Regions from separate parts of the Homo sapiens genome. Here all the other regions are linked to region 2. The links are contacts of gene promoters, found by promoter capture Hi-C in blood cells and fetal thymus (Javierre and others, 2016). All regions are on one chromosome and are shown on one strand. Each heading gives the region's core, a stretch centred on a gene start or on the middle of the fragment in contact. The rest is flanking DNA. Distances are from core to core; before and after follow the strand shown. Region 1 overlaps LIN54 (lin-54 DREAM MuvB core complex component). Region 2 holds the start of COQ2 (coenzyme Q2, polyprenyltransferase). Region 3 overlaps SEC31A (SEC31 homolog A, COPII component).

Region 1 (3,886 bases), core at 334-2,833, 290 kb after region 2:
ACGCCTGTAATCCCAGCACTTTGGGAGACCGAGGCGGGTGGGTGGATCACGAGGTCAGGACATGTAGACCAGCCTGGCTAACATGGTAAAACCCTGCCTTTACTAAAAATACAAAAAATTAGCCGGGTGTGGTGGCACGCACCTGTAGTCCCAGCTACTTGGGAGGCAGAGGCAGGAGAATTGCTTGAACCCTGGAGGCAGAGGTTGCAGTGAACTGAGATTGTGCCACTACACTCCAGCCTGGGTGACAGAGCGAGACTCCATCCCAAAAAAAAAAAAAAAAAAAAAAAAGAGATAAGGATGTGTAATCATAAGACAGTCATCTATATTCTGTTCTGTAGTTTATGAGCTATCCTGGCTCTGGAATAGTCTCTGTCTATTACATAGACTCTGGCCAAACCAATCAGACCTTTTTTAAAAAAAAATTAAATTTAAATTAAAAATAAATTAAAATTAAATTAAATTAATTTTTTTCCCCCCAGAGACAGGATCTTACCCAGTCACCCAGGCCAGAGTGCAGTGGCACTATCATACCTCACTGCAGCTTCAAACTTCTGAGATTACACTTTCCTCCTGTCTCAGCCTCCCGAGTAGCTGGGACTTTAGACATGCCCCACCACGCCTGGCTAATTTTTAAAAATTATTTTTTTGTAGAGAAGAAGGTCTTACCATGTTGTGCCCAGGCTGGTCTCCAACTCCTGGACTTAAGCAGTCCTCTTGCCTTGGCCTCCCAGAGTGTTGGGATTACAGGTGTGAGCCACTGAACCTGGCCCAGACCTTTTCTTGTTAGAAGTTTGGACTTTGCTCCTAGTTCAAAGGGAGAGTCCCACTCCTATAATTCTCAGTCTCTTTTAACAGGACAGGTAAAAACGTATGTTCTTCTGACAACAGAACTTCAAAATATATGAAGCAAAAATGTGCAGAAGGGGAGACGTAAACAAATCCACCACCATATTTGGGGATTTTAACACCCTAAAAATTTATTAAGGATATCAAAGATCTGAATAACTCTATCAACCAGCTTTTGCTAACTGACATAAATAGAATACTACCCTCAGCAACTATTAAAAAAAATGTTCTTGGCTGGGCAAGGTGGCTCATGCCTGTAATCCCAGCACTTCGGGAGGCCAAGGAGGGCGGATTGCCTAAGGTCAGGAGTTCGAGACCAGTCTGGCCAACATGGTGAAACCCTGTCTCTACTAAAAATACAAAAAAATTAACTGGGCGTGGTGCCATGCACCTGTAATCCCAGCTACTTGGGAGGCTGAGGCAGGGGAATTGCTTGAACCGGGGAGGTGGAGGTTGCAGTGAGCCCAGATTGCGCCACTGCACTCCAGCATGGGTGACAGGGCAAGACTCTGTCTCAAAAAAAAAAAAATTCTTTTAAAATGCACAAGGAGGATTCACCAAGAGAGACCGTATACTGAGTCAAAAAATAAGTCTCTAATTTCAAATGATGAGAATGTTAAAGAGTATTATGTTCTCTGACAATACTATAATTAAATTAGTAATCAATAATAATAGCATAGCTAGAAAATCTCCAAGTGCTTGGGAATTAAATGGCACACTTCTTTATTATCCATGTGTCAGGTAAAATCACAAGCAATATTAGAAAACATTTGAAGTGAATGATAATAAAAACGTATTGAAATTAATGGAATACATCTAAAGAGCTTTGGGGAAAAGTTTTCATATTAAAGGCTTACTGTAAAAAAGAAGAAAGTTTTAAAATCAATCAATCATTTAAACCAGGAGTTGACAGACTTTTTGTGTAAAGCTCCAGGTAGCAAATATTGGAGGCTTTGTAAGTCATGTAAGTCTGTCATATTCCCCCTTGCCCCAACCATTTAAAAATGTAAATATCAGGCCAGGCGTAGTGGCTCATGCCTGTAATCCCAGCACTTTGGGATGCTGAGGCAGGTGGATCAGTTGAGATCAGAAGTTCAAGACCAGCCTGACCAACATGGTGCAACCCCATCTCTGCTAAAAATACAAAAGTAGCCGGCATGGTGGCATGCGCCTCTAATCCCAGCTACTTGGGAGGCTGAGGCAGGAGAGTTGCTTGAACCTGGGAAGCAGAGGTTGAAGTGAGCCAAGATCACACCACTGCACTCCAGCCTGGGTGACAGAGTGAGGCACTGTCTCAAAAACAAACAAAGAAACAAACAAAAAACCATTTTTAGGTAGGAAGCAATATATAAAGACCATGGGCATCATTTAGTATTTTGGTGAACCCTGATCTGTGTTTCCATCTTAAGATTCTAGCCGGGCGCGGTGGCTCACCGCTGTGATCCCAGCACTTTGGGAGGCCGAGGCAGGCGGATCACCTGAGGTCTGGAGTTTGAGACCAGCTTGACCAACATGGAGAAACCCTGTCTCTACTAAAAATACAAAAAATTAGCCAGGGGTGGTGGCGCATGCCTATAATCCCAGCTACTTGGGAGGCTGAGGCAGGAGAACCGCTTGAACCCAGGTGGCGGAGGTTGCAGTGAGCCAAGATTGCACCATTGCACTTCAGCCTGGGCAACAAGAGTGAAACTCCATCTCAAAAAAAAAAAAAAAGATTCTAGAAAAAGAAGAACAAATCAAACAGAAGCAAAGAGGTAAAGATAATAGTTAATTTAAATAAAAAATGGGCCAGGCACAGTGGTGCATGCTGAGAGGCCAAGCTGGGCAGATCACTTGAGCTCAGGAGTTTGAGACCAGCCTAGGCAACGTGGTAAAACCTCATTTCTTTTTTTTTTTTTTTTTCTGAGACAGAGTCTCGCTTTGTCACCCAGGCTGGAGTGCAGTGGCGTGATCTCAGCTCACTGCAAGCTCCGCCTCCTGGGTTCACGCCATTCTCCTGCCTCAGCCTCCCGAGTAGCTGGGACTACAGGCACCTGCTACCATGCCCGGCTAATTTTTTGTATTTTTAGTAGAGACGGGGTTTCACCGTGTTAACCAGGATGGTCTCAATCTCCTGACCTCGTGATCCACCCACCTTGGCCTCCCAAAGTGCTGGGATTACAGGCGTGAGCCACCACGCCTGGCCGGGGACACCTCATTTTTACAAAACAAAAGCCAGGCATCGTGGTGCATGCCTCTAGTCCCAGCTACTTGCGGGGCTGAGGCAGGAGGATTGCTTGAGCCTGGGAATTCGACGCTTCAGTGAGTCGTGTTCACGCCACTGTGTCGTGGTTTGCTTGCTACAGCCTCCAAGTCAAGGGAGTGTGAGCTAGGACTACAAGCAGGCCCTACCACACCCAGCTAATTTTTATCTTTATTTTGTTGAGATGGGGTCTTGATATGTTGTCCCGACTGGTCTCAAACCCATGGCCACAAGTGAGCCATCTTGACCTCTCAAAAGTTCTGAGATTACAGGTGTGAGCCACCATGCCCGGTCCAAAAATGGTTCTTTGTAAAGGTCAATAAAATGGATAATCTCTAGCTAATCAAGAATAAAAGGAGAGAAGACAGTTTACCACTACGAGGAATGAAGAGAGGACATTTCTACAGATCCTGCAGATATTAAAAGAATATTACATGTAACTTTGTGCTACTACATTTGGCAGCTTAGAGGAAATAGGCAAATTCCTTCAAAGACACAAACTATCAAATATCCCAGGTTACTCGGGAAGAAAGATAATCTGAATCGCCCTACATCTGCTAAAGGAAATGAATTTATAGTTAAAAACCTTCCCACAAGGAAGCTTTATATCTAGATGGCTTTACTGGTGAATTTTAGCAAATATTTAAGGAGGAAATAGAGACGATTCTGTGCAAACTTTTCCTGAAAAATAAGAACACACTCCAATTCATTTTATTAGGCTAGCATTATCTCCAGGCAGACACTATAAAATGAAAAGAAAACTACAGATCAATATCCCTCATTAACATAACAAAA
Region 2 (3,510 bases), core at 690-3,189:
TCTACTCTATGTGACTGTTCTCTTGTCCTACAAATTAGCAGAGTGACATGTGGGTACCCATCTCAGTTTCCTGTGCACTTTAATTGGACCAAATATCTTAGGATTGAATCACCTCTGGGCAGGGTCAGCATCATGGGTACATGTGCAGTCACCCAGGGCCTACGCTAAGAAGGACCTTGTACTTGGTTTAATGTCCTGCTGTTGCCATCTTGAAATTCTTAATATATTTTTTTAAACAAAGAGTTTGGACCTATATTGGAAAGTCATGGATGCAATACATGACTGATATTACACCCTTTTCAGGTTTGAGTCAGATCTAAATCATCTCCAATCTAACAACTAGGAGTGTTACTAAATTGCCTGCTGGCCTTTATTCTTTGCAGGCAGGAGAAAGGCTAGGTACCCCCTGCCTCATTGCACCAAAGTGGCCAGGCATCCAACTTGCTGTACTTGAGCCATGCAAGAAGTCACAGAATCATTGTACATGTTTTACAGAAAGGAGCCTAAAGACTAAGTCAACTTCCTAGAATATTAAAATCCAGATGAGTGACTTGCCTAGGGTTACTCAGTGAGAGGTTAAATGAGTTGATACATGTAAAGTGCCTGGCACACAGCGATATACAGAGTTGCTTATGAATAAGAGTACTGACCATCTGAGGCAGGAGGATCTCTTTAGCCCAGCTGTTCAAGACCAACCTGGGCAATATAGTGAGACCTCCTCTCTATGAAAAATTAAAAATTAGCCAGCCACGGTGGCTCGTGTCTGTGGTCCCAGATATTTAGAATGCTGAGATGGGAGGATCGATTGAGCCCAAGAGGTGGAGGCTGCAGTGAGCCATGATCCCTCCACTGGTCTCCAGCCTGGATGACAGAGCAAGACTCTGCTGACCAGACTTTTCAGCTTCAGGTTCTTAGCATCACACATGCTGGTTGTCTACTGATTACAAAAACTCCTTTGAAGGGCTGTCAAATTTAAAATTTTCACTTGTGTAATGAACATCCCTTAACCCTGAATGCGATTTTAATTTACAGTCTTGTATGTGGCCACTTGGTGCCCTTTTTTTTTTTTATGGCTAAACGTGTACGCAAATTCTTCTTTTGGATTCAGTAGGTTTTTCAAAGCTTTTTTTTTTTTTTCCTGGTACAACTGTTCCATATGAATAAACACTATCCTTTTCATTTTATGGAGAAAGCTGATAATAGGGTTAAATTATAGGGGGCCATTGTTTTGAACTAAGTTCCTGCACTAGGTCCCAACAGATCAGACTAAGAATCAAGAGTCACCCATGCTAAAGTTCCAAGTCACCAAACTAAAACTAAGTTGTATCTGACATTCTGAGAAGTCAGGAAAGAGAGACAACAGCCAATTTTCCAACCAGGCCATTTCAAAATGCAATCGTCATGACAATTAAGTTTCCTGTTTTAGTCCTTAACCTGGTGTAACCTAATGTTAACCAATCCGTTATTTCTCTGTTGTTGTTTCCCTGTCCCCGCCTCGCAATGAAAGTAATTTGAAGTGACCAATCCGCTTTTTGTTCTCTGCTTCTGCTTTCTTCAGCCCTTTTTCTGTCTATAAAGCCAACTTCCTCCGCTCGACTCTTTGGAACACTTATTCTATTTTACAGAATAAGGTGTTGCCCGATTCTATTTTTTGTTTGTTTCCTCAGAGACCCCGTTCTGAGTGTTGCCCGATAATGGAACCACAAAGTCAATCAAGATCGAGTTGTAAAAAATTACAACTAAATTTATTGTAATTTTTTTGCCTTTTGCCAATAGAAATCCCTTTTTCATTAAGTATTCCTCCCTAGAGTAAGCGACCACGATGACCCCAATTTCACAAGTAAGGATGAGGAAAGGTTCTGCCCACACCGCCGCCCAGCCTGGCAGACTAGGATTGCATCCTGCGGGTGCCACTGCGCATGCCTGCCGGGGAATGACGTCAATCCGAGCTCGTCCCGGCCTCACCAGCGCCATGCTGGGCTCGCGAGCCGCGGGGTTCGCGCGGGGCCTGCGGGCTGTGGCACTGGCGTGGCTGCCGGGCTGGCGGGGCCGCTCCTTCGCCCTGGCGCGTGCGGCAGGCGCGCCCCACGGTGGTGACTTGCAGCCCCCCGCCTGTCCCGAGCCGCGCGGGCGCCAGCTCAGTTTGTCCGCGGCGGCGGTGGTGGACTCTGCGCCCCGCCCCCTGCAGCCGTACTTGCGCCTCATGCGGTTGGACAAGCCCATTGGTGAGTGCGGGCGGGCGGGCAGCCCGGGAATTTGCAAGTAGCAGCCTCCGAGTCGGCTCCGCGGAGCTGTCCGCGGCGGCCGGCCGGGGCGTGATGGAAATGAGAACCTGAAAGCTTGGGCTTGGCTGCCGGGTGCCGTGCGCCCTGGGGCGAATCACCTCGGGACACTTTGAAATGAGAGCCTGAAAGCTTGAGCTTGGCTGCCGGCTGCCGTGCGCCCTGGGGCGAGTCACCTCAGGACACGCAGTCGGGACAGTCTCCTAAAGGACCCGCCAGTTTCACGTCTGTCTGCATCCTGAGCACCTGAAGCGGGCAAGATAATTCTCATTCCACAAACACTTGTTTAAATGGTGACTCAAGCGGAAGGTTCCGTTCTCGTGGCCCTCCTTCATTTATTAGAATGTTTGATCCTCCCCGCAATCTTGTAAGGCCCACAAAGACAATCCTTAAGACAGTTAAGACGCTGAGGAAACTAAGGCTCCTCGTCAGAGCCAGACCAGAAGAACTCTGTGTTTTGATGCTGAGTCGGAGCTCTTTTACCTGCATCACCCATAAGGCAAAGATTTAATTCATTTGAACGCAGCAGGGACAGCGCTTACGGACTGCCTGTCAGCTTACAATCGCCCCCGACAGAAAGATTTTCCTGACCTTCCTATCTTAATTAACACCTACCAACCTCACTTTCTATCGCTTTATCCGCAATTTTTCTTAATAGCACTCACCACTAACTAACCTTATGCGCTTGTTGATTGATTGGCTTCTCCAGTAGTGTTAAGTGAATTAATAAGTTCCTACTACGTTGTCCGGCCATAGAGATAGAAAAAGCTATGGAAACCCTTTGCTTTCAAGGAACTCTGGTCTAGTTGAAAAAGACTATTTGGTGAGCTAGGAAAATATGGATCAAATATGAGTGATACAAAAGCAAGTGCTACAGGAAAAAGAGAAATTACTGTGGATCCCTTGCTGGAAAGTTTCGAGAAGAAATTATACTCCAAAGGACAAGTTGATTTTGCAGAGGAGGGAAGAGATCTTAGTGCGGGAAGTACTTTTGCAAAGACCCAAGGGTGGAGTGTTAGAACACTAAGAATACGAGCCTGACCTGGAACACCAAGTGGGTGTGGAAAATGGGAAACGAGACTAGACAAGAACATATCTGAAGAAGCTGGATAGCGTGGAGGAAGAAGTGAAGGATGAACTCCAGCCAATCTAGATGATGACATTTGCCATTGCAGTGTATGGAGATGTAGTCAAAGGCCTAGGTACATTTACTCCACTTTTGCCCGTA
Region 3 (3,842 bases), core at 918-3,417, 430 kb after region 2:
GACTATTCTCAGGTACTAACTATATATTAGATATTTTTTTCTAAGCATTTAAATCAAAGAGGCTTATGATAATTTTACCATATAATATTTCTCTTTCTGGAAAGAGATTTTCTCAACAGAGTCAGTGCTTTAAAGATCACTCTATTGAAACAAAAAAAATGGGTAGGAAATCAAGGTTTTCCTTTTAAGAGCTTCTCAGAGAAAAACACTTGTTTTACCCTTTTGGATTTATGCACTTAGGAAAGGCAGAAAGGTAGGCTATCCTTCTGCTTTCTACCAGAAGCATAGCTCCCCATTGTGGAAAGATTTGGTATTGAATGGCACATGAGAGCTTTGAGTTAAAATAGTAAACTCCTTTGGAAATCACATGCCTCTGTCTATGGGTCACCTCATAGTAGTACTATTTTTATAGGATAGATGGTGTGATGTTGTATTAGTCCATTTTCATACTGCAATGAAGAAATACCCAAGACTGGGTAGTTTATAAAGAAAAAGAGGTTTAATGAACTCACAGTTCCACATGACTGGGGAGGCCTCACAGTCATGGCTCAAGGTGAAGGAGGAGCAAAGGCACGTCTTACATGGTGGCAGGCAAGAGAGCATGTGCAGGGGAACTGCCCTTTATAAAACCATCAGATCACTGTCAAGAGAACAGCACTGGAAAAACCTGACCCATGATTCAATTACCTCCCACTGGGTTTCTCCCATGACACATGGGGATTATGGGAGCTAGAATTCAAGATGAGATTTGGGTGGGGACACAACCAAACCATATCAGATATTTTCACTCATAGTTCCTCCCATACAGGCTAGAACACAGTTTCTACCTTTAGACATCTGCCTATCATTTTCACTTTGAGTATTTGCCTGTTTTAGCTCACTAGACAAGTATCTGGTAGCTTAAGGATATTTAGGAAAAGGTGGTAACCTTCCTATCCTACCCTATCCATAAGTAAGAGGCCTTCTTCCTCCTTACTACTTTTTCACTTACCTAAATAGTGGCTGTACTTTTCTAGGAGGGATGATAACAGGTACTATATTTTTAGTGGGTTTTAGAAATCTTAGTAACTCTTGATCTTTTCCTGCTTCCTCTCATACATGGTCTTGATATTTCTGTTTGTTACTCATTTTTTTCATTTAGGATCTGATTGAGAAAGTTGTCATCCTGCGAAAAGCTGTGCAACTCACTCAAGCCATGGACACTAGTACTGTAGGAGTTCTCTTGGCTGCGAAGATGAGTCAGTATGCCAATTTGTTGGCAGCTCAGGGCAGTATTGCTGCAGCCTTGGCTTTTCTTCCTGACAACACCAACCAGGTAATTAGAATTGACCATTTTTGTAATGTTTGAGTAAGGTGAGTCCAGTAGATAACACTTAGCATTAGATGTAAACATATTAGTAGGTAGAATGTTTTGGAGCAGTTGAATTTCTGTAACCTGACTGCAGGTAAATGTTATTGACAATTCTTCAGGGATCATTTTAGGTGTATCTAAGCTGTGTTAGAGAGATAGGATAATCTTGCAGTGCGATAGATTCCTTTGTACCGACATAGTATTTTAGGAAAATGAACAGGGAAAAGACCAACTTTTTATTTCTAAAGCCAAATGCTGATTCTTCATACAAAGTTCTTTGTAGGAATATTTTATGTCAAAAAGCTATAAATGTTAATGTTTAATCAAACAAATGGAGTTGTTAACATTTTTAAAATCCCATATGTTCCATCCCAGATAGTATTGAAGTTCATTCTGTATGCCATTTTAGTTTGATACTGTCTGTGGGCAAGTATATTTTTATGTATTCAGAGCAGAGGGAACTAATTAGATTGTCCTTACTTATTGCACAATAAAACTTGGGCAAAACTATACTTGTTTCAATTCAATTCAACAAGTGGGTATAGAATGGTGAATAAGATTGCCAAGATCCTTCCTCTAGGAAGCCTCCAAACTCAATTTGGCTATGGACAAGTAAACATGAGATTCCAGAAGTGTGATATAAGTACTGTGATAAGGGTATTGGTGCTGTGGAACCCAACAAAGGGAAACCCAAACCCAGTTATGGAGCATGGGTAAAAGTACGGGTGAGGTTTGAGGAAACTTTTCCACAACAATATATCTGCATTTTGTGTCTGATGGAGCTTGATTTTGAGCCTTGCAGATACAGTCTTGTCTCTGTACTTTTTTATTAATCACTTTATTCTGTATTTTATGTATTTTTTTAGTCAATTGTTTCTAGTATTTTGTCTGTTTTAGAGAATTATTGATAAATTTCATTGAGTAAAAGTACATAATATTCTCCAGGACTATGGAGGTAGGACTCTCTAGTTGGTTTTGTATACACTTAGCTGTAAGATCCATCTCATTTGTTTCTGAATTGTTGATGGGAATGTTAGATAGAATAGCTGATACATAATCTTTTCCTTTATGGTGACTTTGGCATACTAGTTTTGTTAAGACTTTTTACCTAATAAGTAAAAAGTTATAAGTAAATAGTTATATTGAGGTATATTATAAGAACCTTTATCTTAAGACTAATTTGCTTTAAGACCCGTAGCTCATCTAGCTTAATTCATTTTCAGTACCATTTATAAGCACATCCATTTTCTATACATTATTCTTCATGCTTTTTTTTTTTTGGACTTTAAAGAACATTCTTTAGGCCAAAAAGCATAATTTTGATGTTGTTTCCTATTTATCTCAGTAGACCCTGCCTTTTTTGGTGGGGGGAATACGTCCTGAGACTTTGTGATAGCATTGTAATATATAATTCTCCCCCCCAAAAGGCAAATAAAATATGCCTAAAACATTTAAATGATCCCTTTAAACCTTTAACAAATATATAGGAATGTATAATTTTTAAAGATACTAAAATCTTGCTGAAACATTTTAACACATTGCCTTTTTGTTATTTGTTAATACTTAGAGCATATATAGGGTCACCTCATACTTTTGTAAGTCTCTATGCATGTAGATCTGTATGAGCTACAGATCTGAATTTCACATCTTAATCTTTATTTCAAAAATCTCTTTTAACATTTTCATCTCTTTCTTAAATCACCATTTTCTTCAATAACCACCTTTAGTAGTTGATTCTCTTTGGTGGCCTCTTTTAGTTATAGTTTTTTTTTTTTTTTTTTGAGACGGATTCTTGCTCTGTCGCCCAGGCTGGAGTGCAGTGGTATGTTCTCAGCTCACTGCAAGTGCCGCCTCCCTGGTTCACGCCATTCTTCTGCCTCAGCCTCCCGAGTAACTGGGACTACAGGTGCCCGCCACCACACCCAGCTAATTTTTTGTATTTTGAGTAGAGATGGGGTTTCACCGTGTTAGCCAGGATGGTCTCGATCTCCTGACCTCATGATCTGCCTGCCTCGGCCTCCCAAAGTGCTGGGATTGCAGGCGTGAACCTCTGCGCCTGGCCTTAGTTATAGTTTTTAAAGTAGTTTTGTAATTTATGAGCATTAGGTAACCACAAGAAAACATCAAAAGAGTAGTAATAAGTGATATTGGTCTTGCATAGTAACCATGAGGTAGGTATAACTCAGATCTCTGCCTCAGTTAAATTACAAGTTGCACTGTATGTCATGGACCTTTGGTGCCAGTCTTGAGTAGTAGAAAGCACAATGTCAAATCTGTGTGTCAGGGTCTATTGTATAATACCCAGCATTATGAACAAAAAGGGATATCTTGATGAATAATCTGATTAAGAAAATTAACATGCTGTCATATACCTGGGTGAACTCTCAACAGTCTGCTGTTTTTCCAATCCTTTTTAGCCAAATATCATGCAGCTTCGTGACAGACTTTGTAGAGCACAAGGAGAGCCTGTAGCAGGACATGAATCACCTAA

Evidence for each region. The method cuts DNA at HindIII sites, captures the fragments that hold promoters and counts their contacts. A CHiCAGO score of 5 or more calls a contact.
Region 1: a fragment that was not itself captured here is called in contact with the fragment with the promoter of COQ2 in region 2 in 3 of 17 cell types (total CD8 T cells, naive B cells and total CD4 T cells); the score reaches 6.8 in total CD8 T cells.
Region 3: a contact is called between a fragment that was not itself captured here and the fragment with the promoter of COQ2 in region 2, in 1 of 17 cell types (total CD4 T cells). The highest score is 5.3, in total CD4 T cells.

The regions. Positions count from the first base shown.
Region 1 is chr4:82,991,895-82,995,780 of GRCh38, reverse strand. The region is part of intron 1 of LIN54 (lin-54 DREAM MuvB core complex component); the gene reads left to right. Among named protein-coding and RNA genes, the nearest start is that of LIN54, 17 kb to the left of the region's middle. The HindIII fragment of the contact is 4,223 bases long and covers 1-3,694 here.
Region 2 is chr4:83,283,227-83,286,736 of GRCh38, reverse strand. COQ2 (coenzyme Q2, polyprenyltransferase) reads left to right here and starts at 1,939. Exons shown (of 7, transcript NM_001358921.2): 1 at 1,939-2,225. The coding sequence starts at 1,973. RefSeq lists enhancers at 1,807-2,101, 2,297-2,536 and a silencer at 1,907-2,236. The HindIII fragment of the contact is 1,217 bases long and covers 1,125-2,341 here.
Region 3 is chr4:82,848,904-82,852,745 of GRCh38, reverse strand. It overlaps SEC31A (SEC31 homolog A, COPII component), which reads left to right. Exons shown (of 27, transcript NM_001077207.4): 19 at 1,142-1,315; 20 at 3,769-3,842. Among named protein-coding and RNA genes, the nearest start is that of SEC31A, 40 kb to the left of the region's middle. The HindIII fragment of the contact is 6,463 bases long and covers 1-3,842 here.